Regions from separate parts of the Homo sapiens genome. Here regions 2 and 3 are each linked to region 1. The links are contacts of gene promoters, found by promoter capture Hi-C in blood cells and fetal thymus (Javierre and others, 2016). All regions are on one chromosome and are shown on one strand. The core of a region is centred on a gene start or on the middle of the fragment in contact, and the rest is flanking DNA. Distances in the headings are between cores, read along the strand shown.

The links. Contacts are between HindIII fragments. The CHiCAGO score rates a contact against its expected background, and 5 or more counts as called.
Region 2: a contact is called between a fragment that was not itself captured here and the fragment with the promoter of PTHLH in region 1, in 1 of 17 cell types (M0 macrophages). The highest score is 5.8, in M0 macrophages.
Region 3: a contact is called between a fragment that was not itself captured here and the fragment with the promoter of PTHLH in region 1, in 1 of 17 cell types (M1 macrophages). The highest score is 5.8, in M1 macrophages.

What each region holds. Positions count from the first base shown.
Region 1 is chr12:27,971,271-27,974,228 of GRCh38, forward strand. PTHLH (parathyroid hormone like hormone) reads right to left here and starts at 1,463. Exons shown (of 6, transcript NM_198965.2): 1 at 1,253-1,463; 2 at 657-749. The HindIII fragment of the contact is 3,977 bases long and covers 1,383-2,958 here.
Region 2 is chr12:29,004,058-29,007,015 of GRCh38, forward strand. No RefSeq gene overlaps it. Among named protein-coding and RNA genes, the nearest start is that of FAR2, 140 kb to the right of the region's middle. The HindIII fragment of the contact is 366 bases long and covers 1,225-1,590 here.
Region 3 is chr12:28,984,224-28,987,181 of GRCh38, forward strand. No RefSeq gene overlaps it. Among named protein-coding and RNA genes, the nearest start is that of FAR2, 160 kb to the right of the region's middle. The HindIII fragment of the contact is 5,574 bases long and covers 1-2,958 here.

The DNA of each region.
Region 1 (2,958 bases), core at 213-2,712:
AAGCCGAGGTTCTTTCCAAAGCTAATGGGCGGGGAAGAAAGACTGCTCGGAATTACTGGGTAGTATCATCTAGGAAAGGATTGCAGCGGGAGTGGATACCCTCCCCAGGGCTCCTCTAACTTTTTGAAAAGAGCGCGAGTGGACTGGGAACCATTCAAGGGATATTTGTCTTCTAGGCAATCCTGCTGGTAGGGTTCATTAGTTTCTAGAAGGCTAGTGTGATTTAGATTCTTGAGATGATTCAAGGAATGTGGCCTTTATCAAGCCCGACTTTCCGGGTGATGCTCCACATATTTTACCCAGGGTGGGAGAAATAGCACGCTGTCACCGAGACCCTCGCTCATCGGGGCTCCCACTGGTTCACTGCAGCTAGCTAGCAGTTAAAGTTTACTGCTTAGGTTGGGTGGGGGGGCATATTTTCTTAGAAGCTCCTGCCTTCCTCAGTTCATTACTGTAAACCCCGTACCTTAAAAGACTCGGCTTCTTCTCACTAACAAAGAAAAAAAGCAAAACAAAACCAAAACACACACACGCACACACACACACTCTCTCTCTGGGAATTTCCACAACTTCCCTTGAATGTGTAAGGATTTCTAAATGTTAGACTTGTTTGGATAGTATGAAAGGACAAAGTATCAGCACTCAGAAATGTCAACCTTTGAACCTCGAACACTTTCTGATTTATAAAAAGAATCCTTCCAAAAAGATGCAGGAGCCCTAATGTAATCGTTAGATCTGAAGGGGGAAATCTGTAAAAAAAAAAAAAAAAAAAAAAAAAAAGTCAATCACAAATGAGCCATTTAATACTTGCAAGTTGTTTAACATTGAAATGATAATATTTGCTTCCACAATAAAAAGTCCAAGGTACCTAGCCAAGTTTCAAACTATCCAGGCTTTAAAAAGTCAACCCTTCTCCCAATAGAAGGTTAAAACAAAAATCAGATTGAAATTATCAAATCACTTATGTTGTAAATAAATTCACTTTACTTTCAGAACATTATAAATTAAGGACTGGCATCAATAGACTGCTTTGATTTATGTTGCTTTTTCTACTAATTAAACAAAATTAACCCCCCACTCCTTCCCTCCTTTCTTTTTCCCCACACACTTTTCTGGTGTTAATGGCAAAACATCTATCAAATATTTTTAGAATTTCCTCTCCTCCACAAAAAGAGAAAATATAGACACAGGAAAAATAAATAGTCTTTATATACTCGGAATACCAAAGTTCCCTCCTAATTTATTACTTCACCTTTTCCTTGATTTACAATCTTCTCTCTGCTCTTCTGGCTGAAAGAGGGAAATCTTCTCAGCAGTCTTTTCCAGAAATATTTTTTGTTGTTCTTCAGAAAACATAAAATTAAATCTTAAAATGAATTAAAAGCTTCTTGAAAGGAGACTTCTGTTCCCACTAAAGGCAATTATTAGAAAGCAGGTACCTCTTCCAAGCTGCCCTGTTTATTACTTTCCGTAGAAATTCTCCTCAATATATACCCAGGACCCTGACTTTTTGCCTGTTTTGGAAAGGATATTTTCTGACATCATAATCTAGTTCCTAACATAACTGAGTAATCTCCATCATAATAATGCAGAGGATGCATGACTGCAAATGAGACACAGCAAGAGCACCCCCTACCACCTCCCTCCCCCCCCCGTCCCCCCAGCCCACACACACACCTTTTTTCTAAGGTTTAGAAATAGAACAAGTGCCAATAGAAGCTAAATGTTTGCTTAGGCCTTGCTGTCATGTAAATGCACCTTAGCAAATGGGAAGGCCTGCCTCTAATCTGAAGTATTTCCATGTTTAGCATTATAAGATCTACACCTACACAAATGCCTAGCCCATGAGCACCAGGCTTCCATCTTCCCATCCCCAGTGGCAGTTTATTACAGTATATCAAATTTTAAAAGAGGTTGAAAAAATTTTAAATGCATTACTCTTAAATTCAGTTGAATACCCAGTTAATGTATATCTCCTGTCATAGCTTAGAAAAAAGTAAATAGCATTTATGCTTAGCCTCTTCATCCTTCTTTCTTCTTTCCTCCTTAACCCAAACAGCAAACAGATATACATTATAAACCAAATATGAATCTATAGCACTTTAAACAGTGCACCTGGGCTTGGGAATTCTCTTATTACCAATAAGCATCCAGATTTCACATTTACCAATCTGTAGCTGCAAGCTATGTCTCTAAAATCCCCTGGAACCAAACAACTAAACTCATCCCATCTCTTCTCCAAACTTTTTTCAATGTTTACAAAGAGACGTTGCATAATCAGCTCAAGTAATGCTCTCATTGGATTCCATTAGAATGTGGCTCTCATCGCTCGCCTGGACTGAGACTTGAGAGGAGGCTGTTGCCAGCTGACCTCAAGGTAGCAAAAAAGAAAAAAAGATGTAATGCCTTCAAACCCCAAGTAACAATAGGAAAGGGTGTGTTTCTTTATTAAATCTTTTTGTAGTTAGGTGAGGATAAGACTTCTCCAGGAACAGGGCGGGCTGCTAACCTCTGGAGGAACTGCCTCAGGGAGGAGTGTATAGATATGCATCAAGCTGATGGGATCCTCCCATGGGAAAAGTGGGCCTCACACCCTTCCTCACCCTTCCCTACTTCCTGGGCAATGTTCTGCTTCCCCCAAACTGAAGCAGGAGGCCCAGAGAGGAGGCGGTTTCCTGGGAGGAACCCAAACCAATGTGAGATGAGAAGGTCTTTAGGAAATGGGGGTCTCTGAGAACCGGTTCTTAAAGGTCAAGCACTTGAGCACCTCGCAAACTCCTGACAATTGAAACATATCTGAAGAGTCTTCTTCAGATATGTCTCTGTGTGTGTGTGTGTGTGTGTGTGTGTGTGTGTGTGAGAGAGAGAGAGAGAGAGAGAGAGAGAGAATATGAATGTGCAGTGTCCCAGTCCTGATCTCCTGGACTGGTGCCAGCCAGCCAGATGCCTGCCCTTGGC
Region 2 (2,958 bases), core at 158-2,657, 1.0 Mb after region 1:
CATGTGGAACAGGATGAGACTTGTTTTTGATGGCTCCATTGGAAAAGTGAGATCAATGTATGAAAGATACAGAGAAACGACTTAAGATCAACGTTAGTTCAAACTCGCTAAAGACAGAATAAATTGCTTCAAAAGAAGTGAGGTGCAAGTCACTGAGACATTAAAGCCCAAGTTGAGTTTGTCAGAGATGCAGTGCAAGGAATCCAAAGATCAGATATGTGATTTCACAATACCCTTTGGGGTTCTTTTGATTCTGACCTTCTATGATGCCAAGGCTTTAATCTGCCTCACAGAAGTCTTTTGAGTAATAATAAATTGTTTCATGATGTTCATTAGTGGTGATTTTTTGCCTAGGGCCAATGTATATATAATTGTTAATATTTGCAGATTCAGCTTTTTTCTTGATAAATTCATTTATAATCTAGTCACTCTGATCATATATCAAATTTAACAAAAATGTATTTGAAAGTATAAATGACAAGCTTTGACAAATTATATTGATTACAATTTTAAATAAAAAAATGGAGTGAGCCACAGATTCAACTCAGATTAAATTTGATACCTCCGGGAAGTTTAACACACTTGGTCAGTCTTCTTAAAAAGTTATCAAGGGTCTAGCAAACTGATTGGTGGTATACAGATGAGCTGCATGAGCAAGATGAAAGACCATATTCATTTGGGCAGAAGAAAAATTGCGGTGTTGTTTGAAATACTGCTGATGCCACAAATTATAGACTTGAAATTATTACAGCATCTTTATCTCTGTTTTCTACAAAACTACATAACTTCATAGTAATATCTTATGGTGATGGTTTTCTCCATTCTGTAAATAAAACAGAAACAATTTTTGTTTCACGATTGAATGAGAATTCAGACTTGAGATTATGGGTAAATCTTGGAGTGTTCCAAGTTTTGTCAGAATCTATCAAGTCTGTGAAAAGTTATTTTGAAACAAACATGCTGACAGAGGAGAGGAAAATGTCGAGCAACCGAGTTGAAGCAGAGACCTTTCATTTAATTAATGAGTGTTATCAGAGCCTCTGTCTGAGTTTCTTAATATTCCTGTCTGTGCAATGTATTCACTCACTGACATGAGCCATGAAACAAACTGTGATCTATGTATTTTCATTATTTCATAACTGAATGGGCTCATGTTAATAATTTTTATAGTTGATTGTTGATGAAATCTTTTATCTTAGCTGTCTTTCATCAGAAAGGTTTTAAAGCTTTTTTCTTCTTTTAAGCACTGGTAATAGAGAAGTAGAATTAAATATATAAAAGCCCATCAAAAGAAGAGTGTAATTAAAGGCAGCTATATTGTCCTGGCAGTTTTTTAAATGAAGCTAAAAAAAAATAGCCTTCCATTTTGATTGAGCAACACATGTAATCAAAGTGCCACTAACATTCTTAATTTAAATGAGCAGTTTCATTTAAACTTTCATTTGTTCCTAGGGGTTTCTTTTCATCTACGGCTAAAGAGTATACACTTGGGTAATATTGGCCTTAATTTGAAAAGCTGACAGAATAGTCTTATAAAACTTCTCTTGGACGTTATGAAAACCTAAAATAGTTTCTCATTATTTATATAAAAGCTTCCACAAAGGGATTCTGATTTTTCAGTCCAACTTCCTTTTAAGTTACTTGTCTTTGTTGTTATAATTTGGATATTTGCCCCTCCAAACCTCATATTGAAATTTTATCCTCAATGTTGGAGTGGGGGTGCCTAATGGAAAGTGTTTGGGTCATGGAGGCCGATGCCTCATGAACGGCTTGGTGCCATCCTCGTGGTAGTGAGTGAGTTCTCGCTCTATTATTTCCTGTGAGAGTTCCCCTGAGACTTGATTGTTAAAAAGAACCTGGCTACTTCCTCCCCGTCTTGCTTCCTATCTCACCATGTGATCTACACATGCTGGCTCCCCTTGGCTGCCCCCCTGAGTGGAAGCTTCCTGAGGCCCTTGTCAGAAGTAGGTGTTGGCGCCATGCTTCTTGTACATCCTGCAGAACCACGAGACAAATAAACCTCATTTCTTTATTAATTATCCAGCCTTGGGCATTCCTTTATAGCAACACAAACAGACTAAGATATAGGTGTTTCTTAAATTTTAATACTTTGACAATCTGCACCAGGACTTCAGGAAGTCATGTAAAAATGCCAATACCCAAATTTTGCCAGACAGCCTGATTAAGTAGATCTCTATGAAGTAGAGACCAGGAGTTAAAAGCCCTCCCTCCAAATAATGTTTAATTATCTAAAATTGAAGAATCTTTTCTCTATTAAAAATTAACATGATTTTCATTTTCACAGAGATGTAGAAACTAGGACTATATTTACCCTCCCACCTAAAAAACTGCCTTTTAAAAAAGATAAAATATAATGAACAATAGTTTTCAGACATTAGACATCAAACAGTGCAGTGATCTCCAAGAGAATGGATACAAAATTAGATGATCCCCATGATTACCCCAGCAAAGGTTTCCAGGCCTCTGCACAGGGAAGGAAAATGCAGGAATTGCCCAGTTATCTCCCAAAGTAGAACAGACAAGATTTGTGACTTTGGAAATGTCCAAGAGGCTAGAGTATTCAGGCAAAGAGTCAGAAAGGAGAGGCCTGCACAGACAAGAAGTCCCCCAAAGCAACAGAATCCCACCCTCATTTCTTCAGCTGAGTACTGAGCATGATATGCATGTGAAGAAACTGCCCAAGCTGGGGAAAGAATTACCTAAAAACCAGAGGGAAAATCTTACACAGTTTTATGATTCCAATTACATGACATTCTGGAAAAGGCAAAACAATGGAAGGAGTAAAAAGATCCCTGATTTCCAGGCCTCCAAGGGAGGAGGGAGAGGTAAATATGTAAAGCACAGGACATTTTTAAGCCAATGAAACCATTCTACATGATACTGTAATGGTGGCTGCATGACATTATGCATTTGTCAAACTATACAACACTAAGATGA
Region 3 (2,958 bases), core at 161-2,660, 1.0 Mb after region 1:
ACATATGCTTTACTTACCAAGACATTTTTCAGTTAGCTTGTGTCAATTGGTCTTTACTTATTTTACAGTTTATTCCTTGGGTTAAGTTCTTGTATTTTTTCCTATTAACCATCATTCCACTATTAACCATGTATTTCTCTTTTTTAAAAAACAATCTTTCAAGATATTATGATAATTGTCTTAATACAGCATGATCCAGATGTCTTTTGAGCTAATCTCTATGTTCATTATTCATGTCACTGGAAAGAATATGGAATAACAACAGCCCCTAAGGTCCACAGTGATAAGCCCCTGTTCCATCTTCCCCAGTCACAGACCATCTTTGTTAAATGAAGGAAACTAAGAGTGTTATGCTGAAGAGCATGGATTTTGAAGCCAGTCAACCTGGTTTGAATCTCAGTCCTACTGCATATTTGTCCTGTGACCTTGGGAAATTTCCTTAACCTGTTCAAAGCCTGTTTCTGTGTCTTTAACTTAGGGATTGCTGAGTTACTGTGATGAACAAATGTCATCTCTATGGAAACTGTTTAGTGAAGACCCTAATACATAGTAGTCTTCAACCCTATTTTTGTTATTTATTGTCTTCTTTTTGTTGTGCAAAGTGTTATGTTGTGAGAATCTGTAGGTCTGTCAGAGAGGAGGGCTTGAGAAAGGTAAGGCTGAAAGAGAATGAAACTGACATGCAGCAATTCCCAGTGTGTCTCCAGGGGCAGTCTTCCTACACACTGATATTTAGCGTATAGAAAATCCCTTTATTCAACCAGAGGCATGACTTAATAGCAATGAGAAATTCTCTGGGACACATGAGCAGAGAAGTCTGTCTCTGAAATTTCTGGGAGGTTTTCAAGTCCTCTGCTGCTCCAAAAGGTGCATTTGTTTTTTTTTTTTTTTTACACTGCCTAACCAAAGTCAGTATGTGGAACACGAGACAGCATTGTTATGATCATCATCATTTAAAAGCATTAATTCATGGTCTATTTTCAAATAGTGGCATGCTAGACTCTACCCTCTGAGAGCTTTAATATAGAGCACAACTGATCTACACTAAAAAGAAAAAGAGAAAAACCCAAACAAGAACAACATTGCTGGAGTAGTTGGCGGAGATTATAAAACAGTGTGCATGCTCCTCTTGAGTGGTTTGGGGAGGTAGTGGAGGAAGTATAAACAAAGATACCCATAAGAATCTATAGTTCAATAAAGCAAACTATCTTTTTGACATAAAATATTTTAAAAAGGTGACAATCGAGTTGTCCTCCTTCATACTAGCTAATTTTTGTATTTTTGGAGAGATAGGATTTCACCATGTTGCCCATGCTCCTGCTCATGCACAGCCTTTACTTAATGTAAGCATGTGATTTCCTGGCACCATCAACATTAGGTAAAGGCTGTGTGTGTGCAGGAGCATGAATCTCAACACAAATTGTTATCCCTTAGAATGAAGCCCGAGTGGTTTTTGTGAATTTAATCAGAATCTCCAACCAAAACTACTTACCATTTTGGAAAACATAGTGGTATTTCGAATCCAATTTAACAAATATACTAATTACTATAAAAAACATTCTTTGGTCATGGCAGAGACTCTTCAAGGTAAATTCTCAGACAACTGAACTTAGATAATATTTACTTGGTCAGGCATGGTGGCTCACGCCTGTAATCCCAGCACTGTGGGAGGCTGAGGCAGGCAGGCGGTTTGAGCTCAGGAGTTTGAGACCAGCCTGGGCAACATGGCAAAACCCCATCTCTCCAAAAATACAAAAATTAGCTGGGCATGGTGGCACATGCCTGTAGTCCCAGGTACTTGAGAGGCTGAGGCAGGAGGATCACTTGAGCCCAGGAGGTCAGGGCTGCAATGAGCTGTGATCACCACTGTACTCCAGCCTGGGCAACAGAGTGAGACCCTGCCTCAAAAAAATTTTTTTCTTACTATCACCAGGTGAAGTTTGCTTATGGTAGTTATGGTTTTGGAGCCCTTAGAGGTTACTTGTTCAGGCGTTTGGTTAATGTGCTCCGTTACTCTCTAAACCCCGCCCCACCATCTCCAATCCAGGACTTCACTCAGAAGGATTTTAATTCAAATTCTATTTTAATGTAAAAGGGATTTTAATTTAAATCCTTTTTATTGTTTAACGAGAAGAGAAATACCATCAACTCCACCTCTCATTTTACTGTAGGAAAGTAGAATTGTAGAAAAGTGAATATGCATACCCCATCTTTTATAGACATCATATGGCCTTGTACTAAATTCTTTTGTTATTCTCAACACTTTGATGTTACTTTTGAGAGGGGGCCTCATTTTCTTTTCCTAGACTATGTTATGACATCTTACATCTCTGTGCTTCTGTCCATATACTTCCACAGTCCTGGGATGCCTTTCTCCCCTTTCTATTTGTTGACATCCTACTTGTAATTTATACTGAAAAATAAATGTGTCCTTTTAGAGAGAGCACTCTGTGACCCTTCCAATTTTTCCTCGCTGAGCAGAACTAACAGGTTTCTACTAGGCAATCCTATTACACTTTGTTTATATACCTGTCTTACTTGTATATTTAATGTTACTTGTGCAACTAGTGCAGTAGGGACACTCATGGGCACTAGTGGCACCTCAAGCCAGAGACCTGTGGATGAGGTCCCCTGTGGCTCAGCGGTGACAAAAGCGTCAGCAAATTTTGACAAAGCCGTGAGGCACTAACACAGCAGATTGAAATAGGAGAGAAGAAAATGGTAAATGGTGTTGGCAATATGGCAGCCAATGATAGTCACTCATAAGACATCTTCTGGGTACCAATGAGTAATTTAAAAGGAAAGAAAGCCAAAGAAAAACTCCTTTATGAGAATCATTTTGATCCTATTTCAACTCCCAGAAAATACTGTGTATATGTTTAAATTGATTTTTCCGATAAAATTGCAATTCTTGAAGATAAGAAGCAAATCTTATTAATGTTTTTCCCTTCTAAGTCT